3 separate regions of the Homo sapiens genome follow, and all the other regions are linked to region 3. The links are contacts of gene promoters, found by promoter capture Hi-C in human tissues and cell types (Jung and others, 2019). All regions are on one chromosome and are shown on one strand. Each heading gives the region's core, a stretch centred on a gene start or on the middle of the fragment in contact. The rest is flanking DNA. Distances are from core to core; before and after follow the strand shown. Region 1 overlaps HMGA2 (high mobility group AT-hook 2). Region 2 has its middle 86 kb from the start of MSRB3-AS1. Region 3 holds the start of HMGA2 (high mobility group AT-hook 2).

What was found. The method cuts DNA at HindIII sites, captures the fragments that hold promoters and counts their contacts. A contact is called where the count stands out against the background at its distance.
Region 1: a fragment that was not itself captured here is called in contact with the fragment with the promoter of HMGA2 in region 3 in 2 of the 25 tissues and cell types used here (neural progenitor cells and pancreas).
Region 2: a contact is called between a fragment that was not itself captured here and the fragment with the promoter of HMGA2 in region 3, in 4 of the 25 tissues and cell types used here (IMR-90 fibroblasts, aorta, mesenchymal stem cells and 1 more).

The regions. Positions count from the first base shown.
Region 1 is chr12:65,891,375-65,894,492 of GRCh38, reverse strand. All of the region lies in intron 3 of HMGA2 (high mobility group AT-hook 2), which reads right to left. Among named protein-coding and RNA genes, the nearest start is that of HMGA2-AS1, 11 kb to the right of the region's middle. RefSeq lists enhancers at 2,170-2,464, 2,105-3,017. The HindIII fragment of the contact is 4,443 bases long and covers 1-3,118 here.
Region 2 is chr12:65,726,795-65,730,012 of GRCh38, reverse strand. No RefSeq gene overlaps it. Among named protein-coding and RNA genes, the nearest start is that of MSRB3-AS1, 86 kb to the right of the region's middle. The HindIII fragment of the contact is 9,120 bases long and covers 1-3,218 here.
Region 3 is chr12:65,823,189-65,826,201 of GRCh38, reverse strand. HMGA2 (high mobility group AT-hook 2) reads right to left here and starts at 1,719. Exons shown (of 5, transcript NM_003483.6): 1 at 821-1,719. The coding sequence starts at 931. It also overlaps the pseudogene RPSAP52. RefSeq lists an enhancer at 1-599. The HindIII fragment of the contact is 9,780 bases long and covers 1-3,013 here.

The DNA.
Region 1 (3,118 bases), core at 339-2,838, 68 kb before region 3:
AGAGCAGAAATAAATTTAAGCGCAAAACAAAATAAATGCTCTCAATGACCCTGATTCAGGATTCCCTATAAATGGAGTGTACATCTCCACCACTATAGAGTTCTCTGAAATCTTGCCAGATGCATAAATCCTTGAAACATCTTCTAAAAGATAAGAATGAGCTTGGAAAATAGATCATCAAAGAAATATGCAGTGCCTATAAAATAAACCACACACATACACACACAATTTTCATTTACCAGATCCTCTTCCACAAATCTAGCAGATGGTAGAGTTTTAAAACTAAGTTTTTCAAACTGCAATCTGATTTTCTATTTAAAATAGAATCCTTAACACGTTAGAAAAAAATGCAGTGAATATCATACAAACACCAGAGGCATACAACCAGGCTCACGATAAGTTGGCCAACGGAAGAAATGTATAAAATTTAATCAGAACTGTGCATTCAAAACCATTATAATACCAATTGTTAGCTAGACAAGTTTTTACTCCCCTCTATGTATCATTTCTTTATAGTACTAAAGTCTACAAAAAAAGTGAATTAAAAAATATCATCACAAGCACTCTTCTTCAGCCAGTGACATTTTCAAGTGCTCTGAGCCATACCAAACACAAGAAGAAACAGCTACCCCATGAAGGCTATACTCTAAATACAGTGGGAAAGTCAAATATCAGTTTTGCCTTTTCTCCTCTTAGAGGATTCAAACTATCCTAACATCCTTCCCTTTCCATCCTTATCTCCCAAAATTACACCAATTAAACTTTGCAACTTCATTGCTTAACTCTTGGAATAAAGCTCATTTTGACCTCTTTACCAGTAGCCATTCACCCCCTGAAATGCAGGACAGCTCTAAACCTCGAAGGCTGCAGTCAAACACAAGAGGGTTCTCACCAGCCGCTACCTCTGAAACCCTACAATGTTTGCAAAGGATGAAAAATCTCTAACAAGGAGGTGGTTTCAAAAACCAGTCCTGTTCTGCATCCATTTGCAAATACTAATAGAGAGGTGGATTCAAATGCTACCTTAAAAAATTTCCACATTTGAAACTTGTACCCTCAGGAAGAAAAAGAAAACCACTTTGAAGAAACAAAAATTATAACAAATGAGGTGGTTTGTTCTTTTCGCATGTATCCATTTGGCCTTGTTGAATTCTGGAGTACCCTGTCATGGCATATCTTGTCATGAAACTAAATGCCTTAGGTTTTAGCTGTGACCACACTGGGGTGAGGAGACAGTAGATGTTGCTATGAACAAAATGGGTCTTGCTGCAGCCCTTAAAGGTCCTCCTGTACTAACAGCAATTCGAGAGTTGAGCTGTAATTTCACCCTCCTTCATGCAGGACCTTGTCTCCCCTTCCACAGGAAATGGGGGCTGAGTCAGTGGGGCATGACTATAATAGGAGCCTGTGACCGGGGTGCAGTGTAGCCATCAGTATAAATCTGTCATAGACACACTCGCAGAGGAAGAGGGACTTCCATACACTGCCGTCTTTACACTTTTTGATGCAGATACAGATTTATGACACACGGGAAGCAGAGAGTCTTTGAGCCAGAGGGGCCCTGTGAATCAAGGCCATTTTGTAGGTTTCCGCCGCTTGAAAGAGCTACACATTTATAATTGTGCTTGAAGTCAGCCCCCTTCCAGCCCCAGGAGGCAGCATCATTTGGTTGAAATAAAACTGAGGACTTTTCTCAACAGCTGGCCAGCTCTAGTTTTAAGTTTTAACAACAGGATGAATGGATTGAGGACGGCTGAAGGCATCAAAAAGTGCTATGCCAGACTTTTAGGGACCGTTTTCCTGACGACCCCATTCCCATGGATCAGATTCTCTCGGAGATGACAAACTCTACTTTGAAGGGTCCCCTCGCTTTGGTCACCCAACACAGATGACTCTTTCACCAGGATACTTAAAAGCGATCCAACTGAGACCTTACAAAAATGTCTAACAAGTTTCAGGCAAAAAAAGAAAAGACAAAAAAGAGTCAGCTAGGAGTAAATGAAAAACCTGTCCAGAGTTGGTGTTAATTAATTAAAAACACAATTTCAAAGCATCCCTAATAGAAGACTTCCTCCGTGCAGCCAGTATCTGATTCAGGGAGTGACTCAAGCAATAAAATCACAGTTGGGACGACTCTCGTGGTGCTGGCAGGCCAAGTTCAATATTTTCCCTGTGAGGCATGCCTGTACTATAAAAAGAATGTGATGTTTGAAAATGAGTGTCTCTGCTCTGTGTGCTGGCATTAAAAGTCTCTCCTAGCCCTCCTGCCACATTTTGAGAGTACAGTATGAATCACAATCATGTGACGAGCACCTCCTTGCCAAATTCTTTCATGCTGCTACCACGGTATGTTCCCTCTTAGGTTTTTGCCAGCAGCCTCTGTCCTCCAGCCAAGACCATCAGAGTGAGTGTCGGCGCAGAGGCAGAGCACTCCGGTCCAGATTCACCAGCGAGAAGACAAGGCAGCGCATTATTGTACAAACTGTAATCTCTGAATTGACTAAGTGAGCAGGAAGGGACAAAAGTCAGCTGAGAGATGCAGCAAACAGGCTGCCAAGAGAGGATGAAACACACAGAAAAAGGGACTGACCTTTGGAGGGTAGCCTCCGTTGTGCTGGGCACGGGACTGGGCTCTTTAAACTCATGCTCTTATTTAATACTCCTGAGAAATGATCATTAATACTATGAGTGAGGAAACTGAGACCCACAGTTATTAGATAAGTCACTTGCTGCAGCCACGCAGCACAGGGCAGCAGAGTTGGGGCTGGAACCCAAGCTAGTGTCCTGTCTCTTCTCTCTCTATTCTACTGCTTCTGATTCTGCAGCTCAAACTTGGAGAAGCCAGGAAAACTGCTCTTCTCCCATCTTGGGCATTTTATTATTTACGCGACTCTTAACCAGCACTGTGCATCATGTCACTTTCAACAATGCATGTTGATGAAACATTTGTCAGCCAGATTAACAGCCGTAGGACCAATCTTCCACAGCCATGACCACAGAACGCACCCCCAAGCCTAACTGTCTTCCCTAAATGCTGCTCCAGTGTCACAATGGGAACTGGGAGAGTGTGTGGAGGAAAATATTATTGTAGTTCAACATCATGAATCACTACTGATGG
Region 2 (3,218 bases), core at 715-3,214, 96 kb after region 3:
TCTTGCATGATGGGAACTGAAAGATTTTGGAATGCATTCCTCAAAAAAGAGTCGGTTAAAATATCAATTTGTATGATTATGTCATTTGGGAATTTTCTGATTTGAAAAATCTGCGATAATTTTTTAAAAAAAAATCCTAAGTAGCAATCTGCTACAAAAGATGTAAGTCAACTTCCATTCACAAACAGGAGATCACAACAAATTTAGTGGCTGCATCCTAATCACAACAAATCTAGTGGCGCTGCAGTGAAAAAGGAATTTATGATGGCAAGTCTGTTAAGCTAACCGGTAAGCACGTACACATAATATTATGTTTGCGGGTGGGTGGAGGCTGCAGGTCATTAATATTCGTTGGGTGTCCAGCCTGGCGTTTGTGGTTCAAACAGCTTTTGTGTTTCGTGCTCCACCTCCCGCAGAGTCACAGACAGCAGTCTGCCCCTTTCCCCACCCAGTCTCAGTTCAGGCGGAGGGTCGAAACGCCACGCACGAGTCCTCATGCCGGCGGGCGCAGAGCGGGGCGCCAAGGGCTGCCCGCGGGGTGCACCTCTAGTCCACCAAGTCCTCTTTGCGGCGGGGATCGGGGCGCGCCGGGGGAGCCGCCCTTCGCCCCCGAGGTCTGGGCGCGCAGGAGGTATAGGACTCTGGGATTTTTTGGCCAAAACTCCGGCTCGGGGTCCCCGCCGCCTGGAGCGGGAAAGTTGCGCGTTGGAGAAACAAACTTTTCCGTCCCCAGGGCAGCGCGGGGAGCTCGCGGACAGGTCCTCTGGCAGCAGAGAGGGAGCGGTGCAGAGGACCGGGGACTGAGGAAGGAGGAGTGCGGGACCGCTCCCCGAAGGTGCCTCCTGCCGAGGCCACCGAGGCCGTCCTGGAGATGGCGTCGGCTCCTGAGTCTGCGGCGCCAAAGTGCTCCCAGGTGGCGCGGAGCGAAGGGGGTTTAAATTTCTCCCTCCTCGCAAACGTCCCCTTGCTTCGGGCCGGAGAGTATTGCGCCCAGACACCTCTCGAGGAAGGGAGATTGGACTTTCCCAGATTGGAGGGAAATTTAGAGCTGGCATTTACAGTTATTGTAAAAGAAAAAAAAGTGTTTTGAGGAGAAGAGGTGAAGGGTAGGAGAGGAGAAGTGTTAAAATTTCGACCAAACCACGAGAAACCTCACTTGTTTTAAGTTCGTGACAGTTTATTGGCTTTCCCTAAATGTCCTCAGATTAGCCTGACAGCTCCTTACCTAAAAATATCGAGTAAAAGCCCCCAAACCAGAAGCAGTTAAACGGTGTCACTGAATTCAATCTCAGAGCGATTATGGAGTTAATTCACATAATAAGCAAATCACAGAGTTGACAGATTATTATATGAACACGGACAAATTGTTACATAAAATATTTTGATACTGATTGTTTTATTAGTAATGTTAAGCCCCTTTATGTCTGTTTCTTTTTCCCGGGATTGACATGTTATACAATGCTCACTGCTAAATAAATAAACCAAAATGGTGTGAACTAATTGTCTCCCTCATTTAACTGTACCTTTTTATTAACATTATTAACATGATTATTCATAATTCCATTGGCTATTTACACTGGCAAAATTTTTCTGTTGTATTTGTTATCCACAGAGAAAAATATGTTAACATGAAGTGGACTTGAATAACATCCAGGTTTGAAAACTGACACTATCGATGTTTAAAAATATGTTAAGAGTTGTTCTATCCCTAGACTATTAGAAAATTTAAACTGCACGTGCCCCAGCTAATTAAAAACAATTTAAATTATTATTAAGAGAAAATACAAGGGATATAATCATTAGTCAAAACTTACTCATTTAAGTGTTGTCAAATGTAGTCAAAACTTACAAAAATACATTTTATTTAGCAAAGAAAAGATAAATGTAATTTATTTTTCATTTTATCAAAAAGGTATGGTACATTTTACTTAATTTTATGTAATTATGCTTTCTAGTTTTAATAGAGCCATGTGCATATACAATCAAAATGATTAATAGGTATTTTGTTGATAAAAGGAAAAACAGAAACTCAATTCTTTATATTTCTACTAAAGCTTCCTAAACAAGAAAATATTTTAGCTAATGAAAAATCTTGAATACCTTAAGTGGGGTGTTATAGATCACAGCAGAAATAGGTGAAAGGTGAAATTTAATTTAGCTGGCTTTATCCCTTCTCCTGGAAACTGGAATCTTACCTATAGGGTGAGGTGTACTGGGAGGAGAGGTGGAGAATTGGAAAAGAAAAAGGAAGAAACTGAAAGAATTTTAGTTTATAAAGAACAACATAAGTACATCAATAAATCACGTATTTTTCCTATAAAAAATAAAGTACAATAGTACTTTATTGAGTAAAATAAATAAAAAAAGTACTTTAATGAGTAAAATCATTAAAATTTCCTACAACACAGAGGAAGTAAGTGTTCAAGCAGTACCACCTATACCATCATATCATTCTCTGAGTGCCAATTTAACTAAAATTATGTCTTCTAGTAAGAGAAGTAAGAAAATTCAGAAAGATCACCAAATAAGTAGTGTTTTGGGGGAGGGCACGTGTAGTATTAATAGCATAGAAGATACTAACTGTGGCACAGATTTTTTTTCTTTTTCTTTTCTTTTCTTTTTTTTTTTTTAAGATGGAGTCTCACACTGTTGCCCAGACTGGAGTGTGATGGCTTGATCTCGGCTCACTGCAACCTCCACCTCCCGGGTTCAAGCCATTCTCCTGTCTCCACCTCCCAAGTAGCTGGGATCACAGGCACCCGCCACCACACTTGACTAATTTTTTGTATTTTTAGTAGAGGCAGAGTTTCACTATGTTGATCAGGCTGGTCTGGAACTCCTGACCTTGTGATCTGGCCACCTCGGCCTCCGAAAGTGCTGGAATTACAGGCATGAGCCACCATGCCCGGCCTCAATATGAGAATTTGAGGTATTTCAGAGAAAAGCATCACCAGGATTAGAAATTTAAGTTACATCAATTGAAAATATGAAAGGATTTAAGATTATGACCCTGAAAGAAAAGATTCAAGTTACTAGCAATCATATTCGGTTATTTAAGGGTTATCCTTAGAGCCCTGGAGTTGGGACATGCTGAAAGATTTAATAAGAAGAAAGGAGACTTTAATAGCATTGGGAGAAACTGACATTAGACCCTGAAGACTTTCTTGATTATAAAGTTATTGAATTATAACAAGTCACTAAGCAAAGCATGCTTACAA
Region 3 (3,013 bases), core at 470-2,969:
TTAATGGCTGCAGCTCTGAGGCGCGAGATCCAGGGGCAAAAGGGGGACCGGGCCCCTGACAAGGAAGCGACCCTGGCTACCCTGCACTCTCTTGGACACTCCTTTCAACGCGCCCTTAGCTGGGCGAGTTAACCCCGTCCTGCGGGGAACCAGGCTCCCCGTAGCCCCTGCCCCGGGCTCCCTCCGGCGGCCGCCGCATATTTAAAGAGCCCAAAAAGGACCAGGCAGCCGGGTCTCCATGCGTTCTTTGTCGGGAGGGCGCGAGTCTTGGGCCACCGAGAGCTTGGAGGAGGGCGCCAAGGGGGCGGCTGCGGCGCGCCAGCCCCCGACCCGCGAGCAGCCCCGGGAGGCGGGAGAAAGAGCCTCCGGCCCCCAAGACTCTAGCCCCTTCAGCCCAGATCGGCCGAAGCGCCCGGGTCCCCGGCACCTCCTTCCTCCCGGGCAGTTGCAAAAGCAACTCGGAAAGCGCCTGCGAGCCCGGGTTTGTCGGATCCCGGTCGCTTCCAGTCACTGGGCGACACCGCGCCACTCGGGGCCGTGCACAATAGCGAAAGTCCGAGGACGCGCTTCGCCCGACCCCACCTCCCGCCTTCCCCGGGCCGCCCGCCGCGGCTCCCCACCTCCCCGCCCGGAGGGTTGCTGGCGCCCCGGGGCCGCGCGGCGCACTCGTGGGGTCTGCGCCGCTCCCCCCGGCCGGCCGGCGGGCAGTGTGCGACGGCCGCGGCGACTGGGCTCCCGCACTCCGGCCGCCCCGCGCGTGTCTGGGCCCCGGCAGTGGGGACGGGGTGGGCTGGTGCCCCCACCGCGCCCTCGTACTGACTTGCTGCTGCTTCCTGGGGCGGCCGCGTCCTCTCTTCTGAGGCGCTGGGGCGGCAGGTTGTCCCTGGGCTGAAGTGGACGGCTGCCCCGCGCCCTCACCGCGTGCGCTCATCCTGCCTCCCGCCGCCGCTACCGCCGCTGCAGCCGCTTCGCCTCGACCGCCCCGGAGCTGCCCAGCACCTTTCGGGAGATGAGGTGATAGGGCTGGGGACGCCGGCGGGGCGAGCGCGAGCTGGCGGGCTGCGAGGGCTGCTGTTGCTTAGGCTGCCGCCGCTGCCACCATCAACACCGGACGTCCAGCGGCTGCCAAAAAGAGAAGAGGGGAGGAGGAGGAGGAGAGGAGGAGGCGCTGCCGGTGGCGGCGGCGGCGGTGGGTGGGTGCCGGAGGTGGAGGTGGCGGTGGAGGTGGAGGTAGCAAGAGGAGGAGGGAAGCGAGGGAGAAGGAAGAGAGGCTTTGAGGTCGCAGAGGCTCCTCTCGCGGGTTGGGATCAGGAGTTGCGGGCACCGGGAGCACTTCGGAAGCGGCTTGGAAAGGGAAGAGACTTGGAGTGAATTGTGTCCCTTGAAATGTTAGGCGGGGAAAGAATTCCTCCTCCTCTTCCCCCCACCCTGCGAGAGAGAGAGAGAGAGAGAGAGAGAGAGAGAGAGAGAGAGAGAGAGAGAGAGAGAAGAGATTGAGATTGAAAGTGCCTTGGGCAGTCGGAAAGCAAAGGAGGATGGGGAGACTCCGCCGGGATAGGGTCGGGCACGGAGCACAGGCAGAGGACAGAGTAGTGGGTGGCACCGCGCCTCCTAGGGTGGCGGGAGCAGGCAGCGGCGGCACCGGAGAGTCGGAGGGGGACGGGCTGCTAGCTCCTGAGTCTTGCACCAAGCGCGCGCTGCCCGGGCTGGAAGTTTTCTGAGTTCCTGCCCCAAGATTCAAGTGGGATGAGTGTGTGTGAGTGTGTGTGAGTGTGAGTGTGTGTGGTGTGTGTGCGTGCACGCGCTTGCGCTTGGGGAGGGGGTGGTGGTGGGGGGAGTGCCCACCTCTAATCGTGGGCGGATAAAGGGGAGGGGGTTGCGCAGGAAGAAAAGTATGAGGAGGAGGGAGGCCAGGCGGACCGCCGAGCCAAGGCGCCTGGCTGCTAGCCAGAGGCAGCGTTCGAAATACAACTGCCTCGGCGGCGGCGGCGCCCGGGTGCCACCCGGAGCCCCGCTCACGTGCTCCCGCCCGGCGGCGGGGTTAAAGGGACAGGCCGGGGATCCCGGGCTGGCTCGCCGTGGGCCTAGCTCCACCCGCCTCTCGAGGTCACCCCTGGGCAGTTGTCCTGGGAAGGCGCGGGAACGTGACTGTCCCGGAGCCACGTTTCGGGGCTTGGCCTTTACCTGCGCCTCTACCGTGCCGAGCCAACACTTTGCAGGAAGCGTCTAGGCTGCACCTCAGGCAGCGCACCGGTTCACTGTGAGTGGGAAGGGACTGCAGTGGAGTGGGAGAGGTCCCCTGACAGCCGTACTCCGCCTCGGAATGCCCTCACCACAGAGCCTGCGGGCGGGCGAGCGCGCACATACACGGAGACATGCATGCAGATACACACGAACACGCGTGTAAGCACATGCACGCAGATACACGTGGACACGGGGGCATTCATGCGCTGGTAAACACCCGCATTTACACACACACACATACACACAGGCACGCAGATAGACATGCACATTCGCAGACACATGCAAACAATGTGCACACACAGAGCGCCCCAGCTTCTTCATTGAACTTTTTTCTCCAGGAAAGACTAGAGGCAACCGAAGTTCCCTCCCCATCCCCCTCCCCGGGAATCCGATGTTCCCAGGGTAAAGGGCACCTTGTAGATTCCTAACACCACAATTGCACTCACTGCCCAACTCTCCCTTCAGTTTACCTCGATTTAACCTTCTGCCTGAGAACTCTCTTTCTGCCAAGTCCTAATTTTATGGCCTGGGCTGTTCTGAGTTATGTGAACACCATAATGGCCACAGTCCGTTTTTAAAAGGTGGAGTACATTTTTAAATGTACCTCTTTTCATCCTTGAATAACACAAAACTCTGAAAAAATTAGGTTCAGATTTTCACACATCACACCCAAAATTATTTTGGACTAATTCCAAAATAAAAACTTTCACCTGGGGAAGAATTTATTTTTTTCAAAGATACAGACCACCGTGGAATAAAAACGCCTACT